Linked DNA regions of Homo sapiens: region 2 is linked to region 1. The links are contacts of gene promoters, found by promoter capture Hi-C in blood cells and fetal thymus (Javierre and others, 2016). All regions are on one chromosome and are shown on one strand. The core of a region is centred on a gene start or on the middle of the fragment in contact, and the rest is flanking DNA. Distances in the headings are between cores, read along the strand shown. Region 1 holds the start of SLC22A14 (solute carrier family 22 member 14). Region 2 overlaps CTDSPL (CTD small phosphatase like).

Region 1 (5,503 bases), core at 1,212-3,711:
TTTTGTGGGAGGCTGATCACCCACATTGTCAGGCCAGGTGTCCTTGAAGGGGACATTCTTCCATGTATTCTCACATTTCCTACGCTCTGGTCCTTCGTCTCACGGGAACTTGCTCCCTAAGCACTGCAGAAGACACTGAGGCATATTGTAATGATTAGCGGAGGCCTCCTTTCTAAGTTCTTCCTCTCATTTCTGCCAAGATCCCTGCACATTCCCAGCATTCTGGGAAAGTTTCTTCAGAGAATTCTTTAGAGGACGGGCCTTGGCTGGGACACCAGGGGCCCTTGCCTGGCTGGGGATGGCACTGTGGTGGGCCTAGAGGGCAGGGATCTGTGGGGAGGCCGAGCTGCATTCGCCAAATCTATCCCTCTTAGGCCGGCCCTGGAGGAGTGACCCAGCCTGGCCCCCAGCCCCCATGGGGTCCTCACCTGGGCATGTCACCAAGCTGCCCCACTAGCCCTAGCCAAGGCTAGGGCCACTTTCAGAAGCCACCATGAGCCCCTCGCTCTACTATCGGACAGGGCGGACAGGGATGGAGAAGAGCTGTCTGCTTGAGGAGGAGTCCCCTTTCCCTCTTGGGCCCCTAGTTTTCTACCAGTCACACGAGGGGGATGCCTCCTTCTCAGACTGCGACTGCTGTTCCATAATCCAGGGAAGAGGTCTCCAGCTCATCGTCTACGGGACAAATCCAGCCTGCAGACACATTTCCCTTGGCTAGCCCATTTGGTGCCTCACTGTGTCTTGGAATGTGATTTAACTGCCAAAAGTTGATTTCACATAAATGCAGCATTTTCTTTTTGAAGTTTGGCCAATGGGACAGCATTCCCATCTGGCAACAATTAGCAAATCTGAGCAGGGGCCCCTCCTTTAGACTGAGAGTCTGCTCTGTTTTTTGTTATTATTGTTGTTGTTGTTGTTTGTTTGTGAGACAGAATCTCGGTCTGTCACCCAGGCTGGAATGTAGTGGTGTGATCTCGGCTTACTGCACCCTCTGCTTCCTGGGTTCAAGTGATTCTACTGGCTCAGCCTCCCGAGTAGCTGGTACTACAGGTGCAAGCCACCACGCCTGGCTAATTTTTGTATTTTTAGTAGAGATGGGGTTTCACCATGTTGGCCAGGCTGGTCTCGAACTCCTGACCTCAAGTGATCTTCCCGCCTCGGCCTCCCAAAGTGCTGGGATTACAGGCGTGAGCCACTGCACCCGGCTCCTGCTACTTCTGATGTGTGCATGCAGGAGGCCCAGCAGAGCCCAGCACCATTTCCCCATTTCACTTGTCTTTGCCTCCTGCCTGGCCCTGAGTTCGGGATCCCTTATCTCAGCAGAATTTGGAGGTGCATAAGAGGCAGGGAACACAGAGGGAGAGCATGCTTAGATGTGTGTGTGCTGGGAGGTGGGGGAGGCTGCATAAGCGCCCCCCGGAGAGATCTATGCCTAATCCTCAGAACTCGTAAATATGTTTCCTTACATGGCAAGGGGGGTTAAAGTTACAGATGAAGTTAAGGTTACTACTTAGCTGACTTTAAAATAGATTATCCTGGATTGTCAGGTAGGTCCCATTAATCCCAGGATCCTTAAATGCATAAGACCCAAAGAAATGCAGCGTGATAAAGATTTGGGCAGCCGTCGGTGGCTTTGAAGATGCAAGGGGTCCCAGAGCCAAGGAATGCAGGAGGCTCTAGAAGCTGGAAAAGGCAAGGAAGGAAATGAGCTCTGCCCTAGAGCCTCCAGAAAGGAAGGCAATCCTTCTGAGACCTTGATCTTAGCCTGCTGAGGCCCATTTGTTCTTCTGACCTCCAAAACCATAAGGTAATAAGTCTCTGCTGTTTCAAGCCACTAAGTGTGGGCATTTGTTATAGCAGCAATAGGAAACCAATACAGGATGTATGTGTGTAAGGCTGGAGAGGGTGGAGGTGGATAAAGGAGACTTTCCAGGGAGGGAGAGCCTCCGCTGTCCTCTCAGAGATGTGGCTTCTGGACCAGAGCCATCTGTACCAGCCTCCCTCTGCAGGGACCGCTTCAGCATCCCCCAGCACCACCTGATACCCCAATACCCTGGAGCACTCACTCCCTCTACTCATCCCAAAGGTCCTCTGCCAGGTGGACAGGCCCCAGGCAATTGGCTCTCAATGTGCCAAAGAGGTAACTGAGGCCTGGGAGAAGCATAGCCAGGAGGAGCACTCCACCTGCCGCAGGAGATGGCCAGACGCCACACCTGAGAACTCACGCTTTCTGGGAGGGCAGCCCGCTCCTTCCACAGATTCCCCACAGCCAAACAGGCCCAGGCAGGCTCCTGTCCACACCTGTGCTGAGAACGCGGCCGCAAAATTGCCAGGGGTCATCATAATTTCTACTCTCCACACCCTCCCGGCCCTGCCTCCCTGTAGGCAGGACCGCAAGCCAAAGCCAGGGCCCACCTGACCACAATCCAGGCCCAGCCAGACCCTTGGAAGCAGAACCTTTGAGCTCCACTGGTGTCCAGGAAGTAGTGTCACAATGGGGTGGGGAGGTCCTTGGGGTGAGCTGGGAATGGTGAGGGTCAGCATTCTACTCCAGGGACACAACTGGCTGTAGCCTCCAGGGGCAAGGCAGGTCAGGAAAACTGCCACACGAACCCCCCTGCCCCTGTCTTTGTGCAGGCTGTTTCCTCCACACGAGGGCTCCACCTCCACTCTCGGAAATTCTCCTGTCCTTCCAGATATCACTCATTTATCAACTATCCTTCAAGCCTTCCTGAGCCCACAGCTGGAAATGGCTTGGCCCTACCCCACTCACTTCTGCTCTGTCTCTCCGTGACACTCCCCTGCCAACCAGCCTTGGTCAGAGCTGCCGGGGTCTGACCCATCTCCCCCATAAGCTAGAAGCCTCCTCTGCCAGATTGCAGGAACAGGGCTTCAAGCTTCATGCTTGGGGGAAGGGAGGCCAAAGTGGCAGGACAGGAAAACCAGCACAGGGCCTAGTACAAGGCAGACCATCCTTGTACCAGTACAGCATGTACTTAGGACCTCAACAAAATTAGAGCATTGCTATGGCTTAATATTTGTCCTCTCCAAAACTCATGTTGAAACTTCATCTCCAGTGTGGTAGCGTGATGGGGCCTTTAAGATGTAATTGGGTCATGAGTGTAATCTGTTAATCCATGAATCACCAATCATGGATTAGTAGATTAATGGGTTAATGAGTTATGAGAATGGGACTGGTGACTTTATAACAAGAGGAAGAAAGACAAGCTAGCTTGCTCGGTTCCCTCACCTGTGCCCCCTTGGGAGACTGCAGAGTTCCCAACAGCAAGAAGGCCCTTACCAGATGTATTCCCTAAACCTTGGACTTCCCAGCCTCCAGAACTGTAAGAAATAAATTTCTTTTCTTTATAAATAACTCAGTTTCAAGCAGTCTGTTATAAGCAACAGAAAATGGACTAACACAGACACTTAAGACACAAAAAAAAATTAAAAGAATTTCATATATTTGAAAAAAAATGAAGTATTGATCACAGGGAAACCTACTTACAGCTCTTTTGCAGTTTCCTATGGCTCAATCTTCACTTGTTTGGGGGCAGGGCACTGCAATCTTATTGGTATCTGGGGCATCAGATCCTTCCTCTTTCACCAGACCTCCCTCGGGGTGTCTGCAGGTCACCTCAGTGGTTGGTCCTAGGCCCCTCATCCCCCCTAGAGTTCCCCACTCTTGAGCAGCAGCACTCTGGGGGTCAAAGGGACCAAGCAGACAGCACAGTGAGCACCCAGAAGCCATCAGTGAGACTGAAGAGCAGGGTGGGAGCACCCCTTTGTTTTGGTTTGTTTTGGTTACATAAGATCCCAGAACTCGGCTGGGCATGGTGGCTCACGCCTGTAATCCCAGCACTTTGGGAGGCTGAGGCAGACGGATCACCTGAGGTCAGGAGTTCAAGACCAGCCTGGCCAACATGGCAAAACCCTGTCTCTACTAAAAATACAAAAATTAGCCTGGCGCAGTGGCGCACACCTGTAATCCCAGTTACTCGGGAAGCTGAGGCAAGAGAATCGCTTGAACCCAGGAGGCAGAAGTTGCGGTGAGCAGAGAATTGCACCACTGCACTCCAGCCTGGGTGACAAACTGAGACTCCTTTTCAAAAAAAAAAAAAAAGATCCCAGAACTCTCTGGGTTGAGAAGAGCCCCAATAACAGCTGAGATGAATTTCCAATCAGCTCAGCAAGATGGAGGCTCATAGGCTAAAGAAACATTCTGTTGCCTGCAGATATGAGTTTACAGAACAAATATTCATACCAGCTACAAATGTTGATTGCCTTTGTTAAAAATTTAGGAGGTCATTTTTGTTTCCCTTGGTTACAGGTTGAGAAAACTAGTAAATATGAGGGTCAGATTGTTTCTAGGCAGAAAGGGGCTTGCTGTTCAATGTGCTAGAAGCCAATATGATGACACCGGGTTTTTGAGAAAAGAAAAGCTTGTAATTATAGGCCGGCCGACACGGAGACAGGAGTCCAGCTTGAATCTGTCTCCCTGGGCTGGTGCTAAGGCAGTGTTTTTATTAGAAAAGGTGTCGGGATTCTGAGATTAGCAGGTGATTAGTGGAAGGAAAGAGGAGGCCTGGAAAGTCCTCCAGCATGCGCAGTTCTCTTCATGACACCTCATAGATCACATGGGCAGGTACGGGGGGAGTGAGTATGAAACACGCAGTGGAAATTCAGGCTGTGATGTCAGCAAGCAGGTACTGCACAGACTCTAGTTGGCCACATTGGTTCCAACCTATTTTAGCCAGCTTTGTTGTCTTACAAGTGGAGGGACTTTCAGCATCTCAGCAAGTTGTTTCTTTGCTTACCTACCATCCTGCAAACTCAAGAATTTCTGTTAGTCATTGGTGTCTTTAACTGTTTGGGGCACAGTTTCGCTTTCACACACCTGGACTAAATGTTTAGGACTGATAGTCACCATTGCCGTAACCTTTGAGGAGCAAAATCAAGGAGATACACAACCAGGGTCCAGTGAAGCTGCATATCTTCTCCTTCAGAGTCCCAGAGGCCTCAGCAGCCAACCTCCCATCAGTGACTGCTAAAGGACACTTACCCATTCATCAGAGCAAACCACAGGACACTTTTAAATACACACAGAAAAAAAAAAAAATCTTTCTCCCCAACCAACCATAATCCCCCCAAAAAGGAAAGAAAAAGTCTCCAGGGACCAGGCATGGTGGCTCATGCCTGTAATCCCAATACTTTGGGAGGCCGAGGTGGGCGGATCACGAGTTCAGGAGTTTGAGACCAGCCTGGCCAACTTGGCAAAACCCCATCTCTACCAAAAATACAAAAATTAGCCAGTCTTGGCCATTCAGGTCTCTTCCTGGGAATGACAATCATTCCGTCTTAAAGGGAGCAAGTGTCCATATCTTAGAGGAGGAAACTGCCTTTAGCTGGGAAATGGCCCTTTCCCCACTTCTATCTGGTTTTCCGCACCCCTTGGCAGTTTCAGCCTGAGAGACACATTGTGCCCAGAAAGACTTGCTAGTAT
Region 2 (5,503 bases), core at 770-3,269, 300 kb after region 1:
AGGACAGGCAGGTCCCCTGAGGCCAGAGGTTCCAGAGTGCACAGGCGGGAGGCAGGCAGAGGCCAGGGCTACCTATTGCAGAGTCTGTGCAGCATGCTGTACACGTCGTCCTCCCGGCTCAGGCCCTCAAAGAAGGGGATGAGGTCCAGCAGCTCCGTGTCCGTCATGTCATCGAACCAGGACTGCACAGGCACCTGGAAGACAGTGCATGGAGGAGGCAGCAGGACTGCATCTAGCGCTGGGGGCTGCTCCTAACCTAACCGGGTACCCGGACTTTGAGCACTTTCTTTAGTAAGGACGACTGGTGTCATCATCGTTATCATCATGATTTTGTTTGTTCCCTTGTTCAAATTGAGGCCAATCCAAAGCTAAATGGCTTGGGAGATGGCTCAGGGAGGCAAAGTTAAATGTACCCAGTTTGTGTGCATTTGCCTGTTTTGTTTTCCTGCCACAGAAAAAGGTGGCCAGAGCATAGAATGTATGAGAACTAGCCTTGCTACTTGCCAACTTCCAAAAGCTCTTTCTACTGCACAAGATCGGTTCCTTGCACCTCAGAACACTTGGAGCCAGAGCTTACAAGCCAACCACTGACAGCGCGGAGCTCACATCCAGGACACAGGAAGGCTTCCACTTAGGGTCACTGTGCAATATTACATCACAAAGAGAAGTGGTAAATTTCCTCCCTTGCTTAACAGTGATCAGTTAAAAGTAAAAGTCTAAAATTGCAGAACATTCTGAAGCTATGGGCAAAGACAGGATTTTCCCTTAGTTTTAGGCAGAGGAGTGGGGAGGGGTGGTAGCCAGGGGTACAAAGGAGAGATTTATAAACAAATTTGAATAAACCAAACATGTTTAAAAGTAACATTTTAGCCCTTTTACAAATCTAAAGATAGCTTAGAAACATAGACATTTATTACGTAACTTTGAAAAATAAAGTAAGGACTAATAAAGAAATGACTACGCCTAGGGGATGGGGAGAGAGTGGAGGAGAGGGCAGAAATGGACACACTTCTCTGTCTTTATTTATAGTTTTGATGTCGGAACCATGTAAATGTGTTATATAATTAAAATACAATTAAACCATTAAGAAAAAAAGCAATAAAAGTGAATCTAAGTGTATATAAAATTGGTGACACAACCACACAATTACTTCAAGTGATTTGTGTGTGTGTGTGTGACACAGCGTCACACTCTGTCACCCAGGCTTGAGTGCAGTGGCAATCATAGCTCTGTAGCCTTGACCTCCTGGGCTCAAGTGATCCTTCCACCTCAGCCTCCCAAGTAGCTGGGACTATAGGCATGTGGCACCACGCTTGGCTAATTTTTTTTCTTTTCTTTTTTTGAGATGGAGTTTTGCTCTTGTTGCCCAGGCTGGAGTGCAATGGTGTGATCTTAGCTCACTGCAACCTCCAACTCCTGGGTTCTCCTGCCTCAGCCTCCTGAGTAGCTGGGATTACAGGCACCTGCCGCCATGCCCAGCTAGTTTTTGTATTTTAGTAGAGACAGGGTTTCACCATGTTGGTCAGGCTGGTCTTGAAATCCTGACCTCAGGTGATCCACCCACCTCGGCCTCCCAAAGTGCTAGGATTACAGGCATGAGCCACCACCCCAGCCTTTTTTTTTTCTTTTTTTTTTAGTAGCGACAGGATCTTGCTTTGTTGTCCAGGCTGGTTTCAAACTCCTAAGCTCAAGTAATCCTCCCTCCTCAGCCTCCCAAAGTGCTGGGATTGCAAGCAGCCAGGTAAGCCACCAAGCCTGGCATTCAAGTGATTTTAAAACATGGTGTTATAACTGTACATCTCTCTAAAAATTCCTAAACTGCATAGAGTTGTCTTATTATTAGCCATAATTTAGTACCGCTACTGAAATTATTAAACATACACTACAGATCAATTATATAATTATGTTAATATCTTTAGAAATCAAGAGTTGCAGCATAAGAGAAAGGGATACAAAAACAAAACAAGCAAAGAAGTTACATAAAAACGTAACGTTGTATTGGAAAAACCAGTATGAACTTATGATTTAGTTTTCTTTCTAAAAATATGTCATTTTTAGCTCTGCCCTGTAGTATGGGCTAGAAGTAAAGTATATCCCATTAGCAATGAAAATCCACCTAAACTGTGGTCTCTAAATACCACTTCCACTAATAGGGACCAGGCACCATACAAAAATGGCTGGTTCCAGGGCTGAGGCAAGAAATGTTCATCATGAGCCTGGAACATCTTGTTGTTTAAGAAAGTAAGGAAGCTACAGGTTGAGCATCCCTAATCTGAAAAATCTGAGTCCCGAAATGCCTCAAAATCCAAAATTTTTTGAGCAATGGCACCACAAGTGGAAAATTCTACACTTGACCTCGTGTGCCAGGTGGTAGTGAAAACACAGGCACATGATACACAGTTTATTTAGTGTCCCCAAATTATAAAAAATATTGTATAAAATTACCTTTAGGCTATGTGTATAAGCTGTACATAAAACAGAAATGAATTTCATGTTTAGACTTGGTTCCATCCCCAAGATATCCAATTATGTATATGCAAATATTCCAAAATCCTAAAAAATCCAAAATCCAAGACACTTCTGGTACCAAGCATTTTAGATAAAGAATATTCAACCTATATCAAAGACTTGTTATTAGTGTCCATAGCCAAAGGTGAAAATTAGAGCATGCAAAAGAATAATAAATGGACTGAAACTACAACAAATCCATGAGTTCATAATGATACTAAAAAAAAATTATTGGCTACTTTTGGAGGCCGCTAGAACACCAACTCATTAGTCTGAAAATAGAAATTGCCATTTTGCAATTCCTCATGAAATAGTGGGTGTAGACAATGATCACCAACAACTGCTAAAATTATGAGGTGAAAGGTTCATGGGAGAATTTTATAATAGATGGATCAGGCTAACACCACCTGAACCCAATGATGAATTTTAAATCTTTAAAAGTGGGCTAACCTGACATTTTATGCCTCCTTGATATGATATCTTCATAAGCGTATAATACCCATGATGTATTATTTTTTTCTTCTTTTTTTTGGGATAGGGTCTTGCTCTGTCACTCAGGCTGAAGTGCAGTGGCATGAACATGGCTCACTGCAGCCTCGACCTCCTGGGCTCAAGAGATCCTCCCACCTCAGCCTCCCAAGTAGCTGGAACGACAGTGGAACCACAGGTGTCTGCCACCCCGTCTGGCTAATTTTTTTTTTTTTAAGAGATGGGGTCTTGCCATGTTGCCCAGGCTGGTCTCAAACTCTTGGGCTCAAGTGATCACCTGCCTGGGCCTCCCAAAGTGCTGGGATTATAGGTGTGAGCCATTGCATCTGGCCTCTATGATATATTCTTGCAAAAAAAAAAAAAATCGAATCTAATCAAGCAGTAGAGCTCTAATTACTTGTTTAGAGGATATAAGGTGGCTATAAGAACATATTAAACATCATCACAAGACAGCAGCTGGACAAATCCAGAATGTAGGAGATTTCTACAAGACAAAACACCAGGGCTTCTTCAACAAATAAATGGCATAAAAGAGAAAAGGGGAGGAAAGGGAGACGTGTTAAGATTGCAAAAGAATGAAGAGACATAGTAACCAAAGCAATGCATGGATCTTTTTGGATCCCGATTGAAATACTCCAAATGCACAACACTTCGAGATGATAGGGACAATATGAACACAGTCTGGATATTAGACAATGTAAGAAACTGTTACTTTGTCAGATCTGACCGTGACTTGTGATTATATTAAAAAGCAATCCTTATCTGTTAGAGACACGTTACCAAATATATTATGTTGAATTTGATTTACTCAGTAAAATGAACACATTTACATAGAAATACATTTGGAGTATTTATTCAAATAATGATTCCACACTAGCCAAATTAATTGAGTTTGAATTTTTTTTGGTTATAAGCGAGACTGCAGAGTTCTGGATTCAAGGAAAGGACTTTGCAGGCTTTTGTAGAATCTGAGAAGCCTGTGCTTGAGAGGAAGCATCCTCTCCAGGGAAAAATGCCTGGTCTAGGGGCCTGATGTGGCAGAGACTGAGGGGTCAGCAGTCACCAGAGGCCCTGGTTGGCCTCTTTTCCCCTGGAAGTGTCAGGCAGCAGGCAGGAAGGCAGTCCTTCTTGCCCTGAGAGTTGTGCTGCACCCAGTGAGTAGGCACCGAGAGCTGCCATGGTCCAGGGAGCTTTATGAATGAAATGTTCCCAATGGGTGCTTTTTAGACATCATGATGAGGTAGCAAAGCTTGGCAGTCTTATTTGAAGACCTTATTGAAGTGTTTTATTCATTTTTTTTTTTTTTTTGAGACGGAGTCTCCATCTGTCGCCAGGCTGGAGTGAAGTGGTGGGATCTCAGCTCACTGCAACCTCCGCCTCCCGGGTTCAAGTGATTGCCCTGCCTCAGCCTCCCGAGTAGCTGAGACTACAGGTGCGTGCCACCAACGCCTGGCTAATTTTTTGTATTTAGTAGAGACAGGGTTTTACCATGTTGGCCAGGATGGTCTCGATCTCCTGACCTTGTGATCTGCCTCGGCCTCCCAAAGGGTTGGGATTACAGGTGTGAGCCACCACACCTGGCCTATTCATTCTTAAGAAATACTTCTGTTAAAGAGATCAACCAGGCCTCCTTAGTCTACAGGGGTCATGAAGTCCTACGCAGTAGCTGGCTCCAGGAGGTTACTGCCAGCAGAACCCTTGTCAATAACAATACTAAAAATGTCAATAAGACGATACAGGCTTATAGAGCATTTACCAGTCTCAAGCACTATTCTAAGTGCTTTTTATATATTGCCACACTGCAACCTCCAATGATCCTATGAGATCAGCATTCCTATAATTCCCATTTGACAGATGAGGCAACCGAGGCTCAGTGAGGTTAAATAACTTGGTCAATGACACGCAACTGCTAAATGGCAGAGCTGGGATTTCATTAGGAAAAGGCCCAGAGACCTTCTTGTGTAGGTGCTCAAAAGTGGTACCTGCCTGGCAAGACAGAGGGCTCAGATGGAGCACGACATTTTCTTTCTTTGGGGCCACTTACTGCATTCTCAGGATGGAAGATGTATGAGGCAGGGGAATTGTCAACAATGATCACTTTGCTCAGCTCCCGCCCAAGGCGACTCAGGTCCTTCACGTAGTTCCCACGATGAAAAACACATGATTCTCTGAAGAGCCGGGCCCGGAACACACCCCAGCGGTCTAGGAGGTCAGCCACAGGGTCTGCATACTGGAAAAGACGTGTCACAATGAAGGCTGGGTGTTTAAAAGAGCCCCCCAAACCCTGAACTACAGCAGCAAGATCCAGATTACGTTTTTTAAAAATGGATTTAATAATTAGATGTGTCTTAGGATCCTGGTTATTTTCCTCTCCGTGTACATAAGATGGCACTGGATTCTTCCATTTCTCTCACATCCAACCATCAGGAATTGTCAGTTTCATCTCCAAAGATAGCCTGACTCCATTTGCATCTATTTATATTGCCACCACCCTTAGCCTGGGCCT

The links. The method cuts DNA at HindIII sites, captures the fragments that hold promoters and counts their contacts. A CHiCAGO score of 5 or more calls a contact.
Region 2: a contact is called between a fragment that was not itself captured here and the fragment with the promoter of SLC22A14 in region 1, in 1 of 17 cell types (neutrophils). The highest score is 5.2, in neutrophils.

Annotation. Positions count from the first base shown.
Region 1 is chr3:38,279,252-38,284,754 of GRCh38, reverse strand. SLC22A14 (solute carrier family 22 member 14) reads right to left here and starts at 2,461. Exons shown (of 11, transcript NM_001320033.2): 1 at 2,416-2,461. The HindIII fragment of the contact is 3,768 bases long and covers 1-2,899 here.
Region 2 is chr3:37,975,433-37,980,935 of GRCh38, reverse strand. CTDSPL (CTD small phosphatase like) reads right to left here. Exons shown (of 8, transcript NM_001008392.2): 7 at 5,042-5,227; 8 at 1-194. The coding sequence ends at 69. Among named protein-coding and RNA genes, the nearest start is that of MIR26A1, 8.8 kb to the right of the region's middle. The HindIII fragment of the contact is 4,458 bases long and covers 1-4,248 here.